Regions from separate parts of the Homo sapiens genome. Here all the other regions are linked to region 2. Evidence: promoter capture Hi-C in 16 types of primary human blood cells and fetal thymus (Javierre and others, 2016). All regions are on one chromosome and are shown on one strand. The core of a region is centred on a gene start or on the middle of the fragment in contact, and the rest is flanking DNA. Distances in the headings are between cores, read along the strand shown. Region 1 overlaps AFG1L (AFG1 like ATPase). Region 2 holds the start of ARMC2-AS1 (ARMC2 antisense RNA 1). Region 3 has its middle 20 kb from the start of FOXO3. Region 4 holds the start of FOXO3 (forkhead box O3).

Region 1 (3,055 bases), core at 501-3,000, 400 kb after region 2:
TCTCAGGGTTAAAAACATATTCTTCCATTATGTAGAAATCTGAAGGCCTGGGAGATTTACTGTAATTCATAACCAAAAAAAAAAACCACATATAAGCCCATATTCTAAAATATTATCCCTTTTAGTTTATATCAGATTGGAAAACTGTCTTTGTTTTGAATTGAAACATAGGGCATTCTTCCCCCATTATAAAAGATGTATTTCTAACATGCCACCACCATGCAGCCAAAGCTTGAAGGTATCCAGACGTCTTGCATTTACTTGTGCATTCAAGGTTCATTCAGGTGGTTTAATGTGAAGCTAAAATGTCTGGTCCTACATTCATCTTCAGGAATGAGATGATTTTAATTTCATGGTGCAGAAATAAGGCCAAATAAGAAAAAGCAGACCTAAAAAATGTTAAGTGTTTAACTTACTAATCCACTAGATCCTTGAGAGCAATTTTAGATTAAAATGGTCCAGAGGACAAAGTGCATAATTAATGATGAGAAAATGATTCCTTCAAGTCCCACAATAAGGAGTTCTGCCTGCGTTAACCATTTGTCTAGAGTTTTATTTATGCAAAAGTGGCAGTTACTTCTTGGTTCTGTCTCCTTCATTCCAGTACTGTTCAGTCTGCATTTCCGTGAGTCGGGAAATTGTGCGCTGAAATGCAAAGATTTCCTCTTCTCCGGTAAACATGGAGAGTCCTTCTGCTGAATCCTGGTTATAAAACAAAGAAATTAAAATAAAGCTATCACAAATGAAAATTTACAGAACCTAAGTATAGGTTTAAAAAAACTTTTTAGGCTTACCGGTTTAGATTATGCCTTTTTTTATAACTTTTTTTTTCCATATACAATCTCTTAAATGAGACTAGAGAGTCAACCAATTTAAACTGATAGGCAGTAAACACATCAAATTATCAGAGAGAAAACTTAAAAGGGAAAACTTTCTCCAAAAGTGTACACCAGAAATAAGTAATGGCAAAAAAAAAACCAGTAGTTCTGAGAAGCTAGAAAGAGGCTGGTGTAGGCCTCCAGACAGGGTCCCAGTGCCTAAGGGGGAGGCCCTAAGGACAAACCTCTGGAGAGCGTTTTCCAATCCAACCAATGACTAAAGGAGAGCAAATGCAAATGAGCAGTGGGTCTGGGTTCTGGAGAATGTGCCTGGGATCTAAAAGCCAGGGCTGAAAGGCAGGGCTGTTTTTAGTCTTCAGCTGCTGGGACAACTGATCCCACCATCTAGGACCAAATTGGGAAACTCTGTCTCTGTGAGGCTGGTAACCCCAGACTGGTGATACCAACACAGACTCATGGCCACTAAGTGGGCTTGGAATTTTTCTCTTTCCTTAGGGGTTTGCTAGTATGCTTTTTCAGAGAAAAATTCTAGATTCCTAAGTCCATCTTCTCCACTGATCCATTGTGAACCTTCATGACCCTGAGATCACATTCCCTGATTTCTTCATGCATGATTGGCTCTGTCTGCTGAGCTTATTTTTTCTTGATCCTAGGGGAATTTGAGATAGGGTCTCACTCTGTCACCCAGGCTGGAGTGCAGTGGTGCCATCTTGCCTCACTGCAACCTCTGCCTTTTGGGTTCAAGTGATCTTCCTGCCTCAGCCTCCCCAGTAGCTAGGATTACAGGTGTGTGCCACCACACCCAGCTAATTTTTTTTATTTTATTTTTTATTTTTTGTAGAAATGGGTGTTTCACCATGTTGCCCAGGCTGGTCTTGAACTCCTGAGCTCAAAGCAGTCTGCCCACCTCGGCCTCCCAAAGTGCTAGGATTGTAGGAATGACCCATTGCACCAGCCTAGGGGAAAAAAGTTTTAAGAGCCAATGATGTAAACTTTACCAACCTTTTGGCACCAGGGGCCAGTTTCGTGGAAGACAATTTTTCCATGGACCAGGGGCAGGGGGATGGTTTCAGGATGAAACTGTTCTAGGTTAGAGCTGAATGTTTATGTACATCCAAAATTCATATGCTGAAATCCTAACCCATAAGGTGATGGTATTGGAGGCGGAGCTTTTGGGAGATGATTAGGTCTTGTGGGTGGAGCCCTCATGAATGGGATTAATGCCTTTATAAAACATGCCCCAGAGAGATCCCTCACCCCTTCCACCATGTGAGGTTTATACAGAAAAGACAGAGGCTTAGGAACTAGGAAGTGGGCCTTCATCAGATGCCAAATCTGGCACCCTGATCTTGGACTTCCCAGCCTCCAGAACTGTTAGAAATAAATTTCTGTTGTCTGTAAGCTACCCAGTTCATGGTGTTTTGTTATAGCAGACTAAGACATACACATAGGTTTAAGTCATCATATTGGAAAGTTCACTTTTTAAATTGGCCTCGTTCTCCCAAACTCCTGAAAATGCCTCATTTCTATTCAGGTTGATAAGGAATTGTTTCCTTGTTCCAGAGGTCTTTCACCTGTGGGGCTGGAAGAATTGGGCTCCCCTCATGGGGTGAGTGTTGATAGTTGTAAACTTTTGACTAATATTTCAGTTGTCGATAGTTGAGAAACACATCTCATAACGTTCTTATAGAAGAAGAAAACGCAAAGTCACTTCTAGTTGGCCTGGGGTGAATCACCAGACTCCAAGCTCCAGGAGAACTGGACTAGCATCTGTTTGTTCCCTACAGAGTGTCCTCAGAGCCTGGCACCCACAGGTACTCCATAAATGTTTGCAGAATGGAGGTTGAGAGATTAGTTAGGGATTTCTTTTCAAGCCTGGGGCCTTGCTAGGCACTCCATGGTCCTGGACTAGCCAGCCTACATGCTTGGATACTGTATCATGCACTCTACAAATCCAGCAATCATTTAGAAAGATACCCAGAAAGGGCAGCATGGTATAGCAGAGCAAGCCCAGAACCGGGCACAGGTGGTTTGGCATCCAGCTCTGGCCTGCCATTATTCAGCAGTGTGACTGTGGGCACCTTAGTCCACCTCCGTGGGCTTCATTTTTATCACATGCAAAATGGAGCACTGAACTACATGACCACTAAGGTTCCTTCCACTGTAAGTTTATAATTTTCTATATTCAGTGATATTGAGAATGATAAATTTGCTAC
Region 2 (3,230 bases), core at 440-2,939:
GTGCTGGTAGAAATAACATGCATGAAACATATACCATACATTTGAAAAATACACAGCAATAGCTCAATAGATGACACCATCAACCTAGTTGCTCAAGCAGAGATATCCCAGAATCCTGCCTTTCTGCTTTCTGTTACTCCAAGCCATATTGGCTTTTTGTCCATAGCTCCCAGGATAATATTCAGTTCCCTGACCATGGTCTACAAGGCTCAACAGATCTGTTCCTTCTCAACCCGTCAAGCTTCATCTCATACCATATATGCCCCCATAAACTCTACTTAATGCTAGGTTATTTAATATTATGGTTTACTATCTGTCTACTCCTCCAGACTAGACGCTTCAGTGAAGGCATAAACCTTGTTCATCCTTTTCACCATTGTACATCCAGCTCCAAGTCCAGTGCCTGGTACATGGTGGGCGCTCAATAGGCATTTATTAATGGAATGAATGAAGGGGTGGACATCTACAAAGGAAAGACTGGGATATCAGAACACCATGGGCTAAGCAGACAATATCTCTGAGGTAGACAGATTTTAAGATTTTTTTTGAAAGCAGAGGAGTAAAAAATAATGGATGAAAGAAAAATGGACTCTGTAGTTACCCAGCTCAGGCTAACTTGTCTATGTTTAAGACCTTTCAGAGGCCGATCAGTCGCTTCCTCTTCCGTGTTAACAAAGCATCCTGTTCCTGCCTCTATAACCCCCATCCATCACAGAATAAAAAATAACGGATGAAAGAAAAATGAACTCTCTGGAAGGGGACCAGCCTCTGTGTATTTGTTCTCTAGCCTATCTCATTTCTGACAGCAGCTCCTTCCCAAGCTCCTAAACTCCCGGGCCCCACCCCTTTCCCCACCTGACTGGTCACACGTTCACCCCTTCTCTCCATCACCAGCGTCACTGGTTCAGTTTAAGCTCACTTCATCTCTTACCCAAACTCTACAGCCCCCTGGATGGGCTCCTTCCACAGTTTGCCCCCATAGCTGCTCACTGCTGCCAGAGGGGGCATCTCAAAGCTCCGCCTTCCCTGCTCAAAGGCCTCCTGCGACTTCCGGCCCAGCCAGTAGCACCCATAGCCTAAAGGTTCCTCAGTCTCTGAAGTGTGGTTTATCCCTCCAAACTCATCTCCTTTGCCTCGGCACCACCCTGGCCATCTTTCAGACTCTGCACCACATGAGGTCCTCAACCCTTCATGACGCCATGCCTTTGAATAGGCGGCTTCCTCCGCCCAGAGTGCCCTCGATTACACTTTGCCACCCCTTCTCCCCCGGGCCATCTCCTGCTCATTTTTTTCTTTTTTCTTTTTCGAGACAGAGTCTCGATCTCGGCTCACTGCAACCTCCGCCTCCTGGGTTCAAGCGATTCTCCTGCCTCAGCCTCCCGAGTAGCTGGGATTACAGGCAAGCACCACCACACCCTGCTAATTTTTGTATTTTTAGTAGAGACAGGGTTTTGCCATGTTGGCCAGGCTGGTCTTGAACTCCTGACCTCAAGTGATCCGCCCGCCTCGGCCTCCCAAAGTGCTGGGATCACAGACATGATCCACCGCGCCCGGCCTCCTGCTCATTTTTCAAAACCCAGCTCAAGATAACTTCTCTGTGAAGTCCTTTCCGAGGCTGATCAGTCACTTCCTCTCCTTCCTCTTCCGTGTTACCAAAGCATCCTGTTCCTGCCTCTACAACCCCCATCACAGAAGCATTGTCACTTGTCTTCAGGCATCTTCTCTCCCATGGTGAGCTCCTCTAGGGTACAAACCACTTCTTATTCCTCTTTCTATTCAGAGGACAACAAATGTGCTCATAAAAAGCTCTTAAATGTTCAGCTACTGGAGGGCTGGAAGAGTGAATGAGAAGGGGAAGGAGGAGGGGAATGAGGAGGGGGAAGAAAGAAAGAAGGGACAGGAGCGACAAAAGAGAGGTTTTTCCCTTTAAGACACCTCTGGCAAGAAAGTGCGGGAGCTTAGCAGAGGCCTGGGTGAACCAGGGCCTAAAACCCTGAGGGAGAAGGATCAGGAAAAGGCCACCACGCAGATGCAGCTCTGAAGGCCCTGTATCTTGAGAGACTTGTCACCAACCTCTGAGAGCCACCAATCTCACTGTGGGATGATGGTGGGGCCCTGAATGCTCAGACCAGTGGCCTTTTCTGGAAAAAATGCAGGAAAAAAAAAAAAAAAAGGGTGTGGGGAGGAGAGTCTAGCTAAATCATGTGGTCACAGTAAAGGCAAGTTCCAAGTCAACCCATTTAACTGAATTTTGCTCCTACTTTTGAATTCATTATATACAAGTGAAAATTAAAAAAAAGAAAACAAGAACTCTCAGTTGAACAGAGATAAATCTGTGAAAATTATCAATGAGTTCTGTGCTCTACAGCAGGGTCTTTATTTCCCACCCTCAAGAAAAGCCCACCCACTGGGCCCTCCCCCAAAGCAGGAGTTAACCAAAGCCCAAGCTTCATGCTTGGAGGTGTGCATCCATTTCTTTCTTAACTTTCTATTCTAATTTATATTATCTATAAATGCACAAACTTAAACACACATTTTTCTTTTTTATTGTATATAATCTTTCAAACCACCTCAAATCCCTTACTTAAAAAAAGTCTTGTTTAGTCTCTAAAGGACTTAGTAGAGAAATTCTCAACCTCTTAAGTAGCATTTCACCAAGAAATAGCACACTGAAAAACACAAGTTTTAATTCCTATCTTTTCCCCCATCTCTTAACTTGCAATCCTGTGGGACTTGCAATCCTGAAGGCAGCCCATAGGAAGAAGAAAAAAGAGAAGAAAATGACACTGATAATCCACAAAGAGGACTAATACAAATGTAAGTTTCCTTGCTTATTAGCAATTGTTAGGTGATGTTTAGGACAAAAGGGGACCTAAGGTTTTGGTAAATACCCAGGAAGAAACATTCCATTTTGCTTCTGGTTACCAATCTACTACTGAAAAATGACTGAGCTACACTTGACAACTTTCTGGTGCTCACTTTTCTGAGAAAGCTTCTTTCCATGTTCCCCAAATTATTTGATCATAACAGGTACCACCCTCAGTCAGGGAAAACACCTGGAGACTTGGCAAAGCTACCCAGCTCACATTGAATTATGTAAGCCTCAAAGTTTTCATTGTGTAGTCAGTATTGGGAGACCCATTTTAAAGGGAAAAAATGTACTAAGAAGAAATTAGATCATTTATAAATGCACAACTACATTTTAATACAGTAAAATGAGAACTCAAAAG
Region 3 (3,063 bases), core at 290-2,789, 380 kb after region 2:
GAACCATTCTTACCAAGAAAATATCTTTCTCCGTTGACTCTGGTACCTGTCATGGGGCAACTTTTTCTGGTGAGTGTAACTCAGTGGGTGTCATTGTCTTACTTAGCTAAAGAATGACATCAGGATTGGAAGCATGTTTAGAGATCACCCCAAGGTTCACAGCTACCACAGTACCAGGGCACTTCATGTGTTCCTTGTGGGTGGTGGTGGTCAGACACACATGGTGCACTGATGCCATTCTTCCTAGAAAAACATCTGTCATCTGTGGCACACAGGGCACTTTGCTCATTTTATCTCTCAGCGGACTTATCACAGTGAGGCAGGTCACAACCAGAACCCCTATTTTGCAGATGCAGAAAGAAAAGGCAGAGGGAAGGAGAAGCAGAAACACACTGTCCCTTCCTATGGGTACATTCACTATCAAATTACACAGCATCTACTTGCTTTGGCCAGCACCTGGTATTGCTTTACAGAGAGTTATGGAAAACAAAAAGTATTTCTGTACATAGTCACTTACCCAGAAAAGCAAGCTGGCCAGGTGCTGGCTGGTTGTGGTTTCTTTAAGTTGGAGCAGAAGGGCTTTGCCTGAATTTCCTGATCTCCTCCCGCCATCTGGTGGCTGTGAGCTGAGCATACATGCAAATTTCAATCTTCATTTCCTGTACTCCTTACTTCAAACTCCCATGCTCCGTGATCTTCTGAGGTTTGATGAGGGAAGGAGGAAAGGGAGAAAGGTGAAGATAAAGGGAGAGGGGAGAGAGGAAAGGGAAAAGAGAGAAGGAGGGAGAGGGAGGAGAAAGAGGAGGAAAAGGAGGAGAGAAAATGTAAAAGGCATGTACCTGTGGCTTTCATTGTATGTTCTTCCTTAGGTCCCCTCACCCTCCATTCAGCTACAGAGAACCGTCAGCGTGTGGTGGAGACAAGCCATTCAGTTGCATTGACATTTTGTGGAGTGCCTATACTGGCTGTTGGACACTGCGCTAAGGGTTGGTCTGCAAAGTGGGCACTTAAAAGATCCACTGCTCTAGAGTAGTTTATCAACATTCATTTTAGACGGTATTTTATTATCGTGAAAAGCAAGGTACTGTTTCAACACACAGCAGTCTTTCACAGGGCACTTTTTCATTTTGATAAAGTCCAATTAATCAGTTTTTCCTTGTATGGGTTGTGTTTTAAATGTCAAGTCTAAGAACTCTTTGCCTAGTCATAGATCCTGAATATATTCTTCTATTTTTTCCTCAACAATTACACTTTACATTTAAGTATGTGATTGATTTTTAAGTTAAATTCTGTATGAGATATGAGTTCCAGGTAGAGATTTGTTTACTTTTTGTTGATAGCTATGTTTATCCAGTTGTCCCAGCACCACTTGTTGAAAAGCCTATCCTTCTCCTATTGAACTGCTTTTACAACTTTCTAAAAATCAGTTGGACATATCTGTGTAGGTCTATTTTCCAGTTCTCTATTCTGCTCCATTAATCTCTGTGACCATCCCTTCACCAAAACCACACAGTCTTGATTACTATAGTTATAAGTCTTAAAATTGGGTAGAGTGATTACTCTCACTTTATTTTTATTTTTCAATAGTTTTACCTTTTTTAGCTTTTTGTTTGCTTTTCTATATAATTTTTATTTTTCTTTTAAGATGGCATCTTGCTCTGTTACTCAGGCTGAAGTACAGCTTCATGATTATAGCTCAGCGCAGCCTCAAACACCCAGGCTCAAGTGATCCTCCTCCCTCAGCCTCCCGAGGAGCTGGGACTGCAGGCATGTGCCAATATGGTAGACTAATTTTAAAAAAAAATTTTGTAGAGATGGGGGTCTTACTAAGTTGTCCAAGCTAGTCTCAAACTCCTGGCTTCAAATGATCCTCCCACCTTGGCCTCCCAACTATGTAAATTTTATAATAATCTTGTCCAGATATATAAACAATCTTGCTGGGATTTTGATAGGAATTGCATTAATTTTATATATCAATTTTGGAATTGTCATCTCTGCTATATTGAGTCTTCTATTCTATTTTTTAAATTATTTTATTTTATTTTTTGAGGCAAGGACTTGTTCTGTTGCCCAGGCTGGAGTGCAGTGGCACAATAACAGCTCACTGCAGCCTTGACCTCCCAGGCTCGAGGAATCCTCCTACCTCAGCCTCCAGAGCAGCTGGGAATACAGGCACATGCCACCATGCCCAGCTAATTTAAAAAATATATTTTTTTTTGTAGAAATGGAGGTCTCTGTATGTTGTGCAGGCTGGTCTTGAACTCCTGGGCTCAAGTGATCCTCCTGCCTCAGCTCCCCATAGTACTGAGATTACAGGATTACAGATGCCCAGCCAAGTCTTCTAATCTATAAATATAAGTATGTCTTTCCATTCATTTAGATCTTTTATGATTAGTATTTTATAGTTTTCAGCATACGAATCATGTACATGTTTTGTTAGATTTGGACCAAAGTACTTTTTCTTTTTCTATTTTTGGCAATTGTAAATGGTATCATATTTTTAAGTTGAGTATCCATGTATTCATTGTCAATATATAGAAAGACACTTAACTTTTGTATGTCTATCTTGTATCCTATGACTTTGCTGAATTTATTAGTTTTAGAAACTTTTTGTAGACTTTTTTCAATTTCCTACATAGACAATAATAGCACTTGCAAATAGGGATAGGTTTTTTATTTTTGTTCTTTCTTTCTGATCTGTTTGTGTTTTCTTGCCTTATTGCACAAGCTAGGACCTCAACTCTACTATACTGAATAACAGTTAAGAGAATAGACATCCTTGCCTTCATCTGGGTCTTAGATTGGACCAGCCCTGCATCCTGAAATACACTGTTCTTGATGATGGTGTATAATTATTTTTATATATTGCTAAATTATATTTGCTAATATTTTGCTGAGGATTTTTGTATCTACACTAATGAGGGATATTGATCTTTGGCTTTATTTTTTCATACTGTCTTTGGTTTGTGTATCATAGTAATTCTAGCTTCATAAAATGAATTGAGAAGTGTTACCTCTGGAAGAGACTGAGATTTTCTGAAAGACATTGAGTAGAACTTGGTG
Region 4 (3,168 bases), core at 74-2,573, 360 kb after region 2:
CGTCCCAAACACCCCCACACCTCTCACTCCAGCCACAGCGCCCGCACCAGACCCCCACTACGGTAAACTCTACTCCAAAGTTGGCTGCGGACCTACCTCCTCGGTGCTGTCCGGAGAATCCAGCAAATGTACTCCTGTCCGTTCGCCCTTCCCTCGCCGGCGTCCCCTGCCCCCTCTCCTCACCTGGCCATGCCCCAAGCTTCTGGGGAGCCTCATTCACCCCTCCGAGACCGTCCCCAGGTGCCCCGACTCCGGGGATCAAAGATAACCCCCAAAGCCTCGCAGCGGAGGCTCCCCCTGCCAACCCCTTGCCCTGGAGCCCGCAAGCGCACTCCGACGAATCCGAGACGCGTCTCGCGCTGCGCAGGAGGCCCGGCGGGTCCTGCTGCCAGCCCGGGGTGGGTACGCACCTTCCAGCCGGCAGAGCTGTTGCTGTCGCCCTTATCCTTGAAGTAGGGCACGCAACGCACCATCCACTCGTAGATCTGGGACAGAGTGAGCCGTTTGTCCGGGGAGCTCTCGATGGCGCGGGTGATCAGGTCCGCGTAGGACAGGTTTCCCCAGGCGTTCCGCCGCGACGAACATTTCCTCGGCTGCCCGGAGCCCCCAGCCGCCCCCGGCTGCGGCGGTGGCAGCGGTTGCTGAGGCTGCAGCAGCGCCTGTGTACCCCCGCTCAGCCCGCCCGCCGCGGTGGCTGGCCCAGACCCGGGGTCTTGCCCTCCGGGTGCCAGCACCCGGGCCGAGTCCTCAAGGAGCAGCCCGGAGCCCAGCGTGCCGCTCCCGCCGCCGCCGCCGATCGCCATGGCCGAGCCGGCCCGTCCCCCGCCGTCCTCGTCGTCTTCATCGTCCTCCTCCTCGGGGATCATGGAGTCGGCGGCCGTCTCCCCCGAGGGCTTGGCAGGGCTCGCTTGGAGCTCCGGCCTTTGCAGGGGCCACGTACAGGATCGCGGACGGCTCTGGGGCTCGAACTCCGGGTCCAGCTCCACTTCGAGCGGAGAGAGCGGGGCCGGGGAAGCCGGTGCCTCTGCCATCTTCGCCGCCCGCCCGCCCGCGGCTGGGGCTCTCGCGCTCTCCTCTCGCGCCGGGGCGGGGTGCAGCGGGGGAGGGACGTGGACGCCGCGAAGGCTCCGGCTCCCGGGCGCCGCCGCCGCCGCCTGGGGAAGCACCAAAGAAGAGAGAAGGAGAGTTGGTTATCCCGGGCCGGAGCCCCGTCCTCGGCGAGTCCTCGCCCGCTGCCGCCACCTCCCAGTCCTGCCGCGCCCGCCTCCCAGGAACAGGAGGACCTGAAGACGTGCGGCCAGCGAACCTGGCGCAGCAGACACCGCCCCCCGGCCAGGCCGCGATGGAGCCGCGAGCGAATCGACGGCCTCGCGCGGGGCAGCCCCCTCCCCCCGCCGCCCAGCCGCAGGTCCCTCCCGGGCTAGGCGGCGGGGCGGGGAGAAGGGGGAGGGGCGCCCGGGGGAGGGGCGGCCGCGCCTTTAAAGCGGGCAGCGGCCGGAGCTGGCGCAGCCGAGCCGCGGTCAGAGCCCGAGCTCGGGTGTGCGTGCGTTTGTTTATGTTTCGCTCGGGCCCGCTCTAGTGCCTCCCGCGGCGCCGCCGCTCAAGTCTGTGCTGTCTTCGGCTCTTCTCCCCTTTCCTAGCCTGGCCGCCTCCGCGACCCCCCGTCACCCCCCACCCGGTCGAATGGCCCGAGCCCGGGGACTGCGCGGGCAGCTCCCTCTCCCCTCTTCGCCCGCGGGCCAGAGGGCGAACGGGGGTCTGGGCGCAGATGGGCCCTTGTCACTTCCAAAAAATAAAGGAAAGACAGAAAGAAGGGGGAGCAGCAGCCCAGCGGGTGTTCGCAGAGGTTCGAGCCCGGCGGGGACGGCCACTTCGGGGTTTTGTGTGGTTTGCATTCTCGCGGACGTCGTCCCCTCCGCCCCCTTCCCAGTCGGGATCCGGGGGAGGGAGCGAGTCGGAACATAAATCTTCCAACAGGTCGGGAAGCGCCAAGTCTCCCGGGCTGCTAGAAAACCCGGACCAGCACGTTCATCACCTCCTTGCTCCCGCTGCTGCCATCTTGACAGTTTCCCCCTTCCCGAGTCCTTTAAAAACACTAGCGGGCGAGAAGGGGGGCGCGCACACCGCGGCTCAGGGAGGGGAAAGGGAAGCGCCCGGCCCAGCTCGGAAGCAGATCCGGAGTCACCGGGAAGGCGGCCGCCCGCTGCACGGCTCCGGCGCCTACCTCGCTTCCTTCCCTTCAGGGACGCGGCGGGACGACGCACGATCCCGCGCGGGCCCGGGGCACGGCGAGGAGGGGGCGCGCAACCTCGGCGAAGGAGAAGCGCTCGGGCCGTCGCCGCAGCCCGCCCGAGGAACCGCCTGTCAGCTCGCGCGCCGCCACCTTCCACATTCCTCCTCCTCCCTTCCACGAGCAGGGCGGCCGCGGCAGCAGCACAAAGTTATAGACACACGCAGGGCGCCTCAACCTAGGCTGACGGCGGGCGGGTCCCCGCCCAGGGGGAGGGCTGGGCGGCGGGCTGGGCGGCGGGCCGGGCGCGCGGCGGGCGTGCGTGTGTGAGTGCGCGTGTGTGAGCTCGCGCGCGCCTGCGCGGCCCGGCTCCGCGGGGCTGCGGGCGTGGGTGTCCGGGCGCGCGCCGTGGGCCGGGACTCGGCGGGCTCCCGCTGCTGTCCCCGCTGGGCTCCTCCTCCCTCCCGAGAGTCTCAACGACAACAAAGCGCGGCGCTGGCCCGGGAGAGGAGGGAGAAGGGGGGAGAAGGGAGGAGAGGAGGAAGAAGTGGGGAGAGGAGGGAGAAGGGGGAGCGGCAGGAGCGCACAGCCCCCGACGCTCCAAGGAGCGCAGCGGCGTGGCCTCCCTGACTCCGGGCAGGGCGCCTGGTACCAGGGGGTCCCTGGCCTGCGCGTCCGCCCGCCGGGCTCTGGGCCAGCCCCGGTGTCCGGTTCCCTGTTAGAACGCGACACCAGGTAACACCCGAGATAAGATGCTGGCCGCAAGATGGGCAGGGTTATCGCGGTGTGGAAATACTGAACGGCGAAGATGTTGGTGCCTGCACAACTTCGATAAGCTGATGCTCACAGATTCGATCAGGCACCAAAAGGTTTGCACTGAGTCTCTCACCTCGGACGGTGGACCACAGTCGTGTTTCACTTTTCATGGGTTTCATGGC

Evidence for each region. Contacts are between HindIII fragments. The CHiCAGO score rates a contact against its expected background, and 5 or more counts as called.
Region 1: a contact is called between a fragment that was not itself captured here and the fragment with the promoter of ARMC2-AS1 in region 2, in 1 of 17 cell types (M1 macrophages). The highest score is 5.2, in M1 macrophages.
Region 3: a fragment that was not itself captured here is called in contact with the fragment with the promoter of ARMC2-AS1 in region 2 in 6 of 17 cell types (activated CD4 T cells, total CD8 T cells, monocytes and 3 more); the score reaches 6.7 in activated CD4 T cells.
Region 4: the fragment with the promoter of FOXO3 here is called in contact with the fragment with the promoter of ARMC2-AS1 in region 2 in 17 of 17 cell types (activated CD4 T cells, naive CD8 T cells, non-activated CD4 T cells and 14 more); the score reaches 28.1 in activated CD4 T cells.

What each region holds. Positions count from the first base shown.
Region 1 is chr6:108,519,944-108,522,998 of GRCh38, reverse strand. It overlaps AFG1L (AFG1 like ATPase), which reads right to left. Exons shown (of 13, transcript NM_145315.5): 13 at 1-702. The coding sequence ends at 574. Among named protein-coding and RNA genes, the nearest start is that of FOXO3, 39 kb to the left of the region's middle. The HindIII fragment of the contact is 3,033 bases long and covers 234-3,055 here.
Region 2 is chr6:108,922,562-108,925,791 of GRCh38, reverse strand. It overlaps ARMC2-AS1 (ARMC2 antisense RNA 1), which reads left to right and starts at 1,689. Exons shown (of 3, transcript NR_104137.1): 1 at 1,689-1,731; 2 at 2,748-2,817. The region is part of intron 10 of ARMC2 (armadillo repeat containing 2); the gene reads right to left. The HindIII fragment of the contact is 2,206 bases long and covers 244-2,449 here.
Region 3 is chr6:108,539,731-108,542,793 of GRCh38, reverse strand. No RefSeq gene overlaps it. Among named protein-coding and RNA genes, the nearest start is that of FOXO3, 20 kb to the left of the region's middle. The HindIII fragment of the contact is 6,005 bases long and covers 1-3,063 here.
Region 4 is chr6:108,559,072-108,562,239 of GRCh38, reverse strand. It overlaps FOXO3 (forkhead box O3), which reads right to left and starts at 1,323. Exons shown (of 3, transcript NM_001455.4): 1 at 411-1,323. The coding sequence starts at 1,031. RefSeq lists an enhancer at 346-846 and silencers at 1,290-1,509, 2,489-2,558, 2,599-2,958. The HindIII fragment of the contact is 5,662 bases long and covers 202-3,168 here.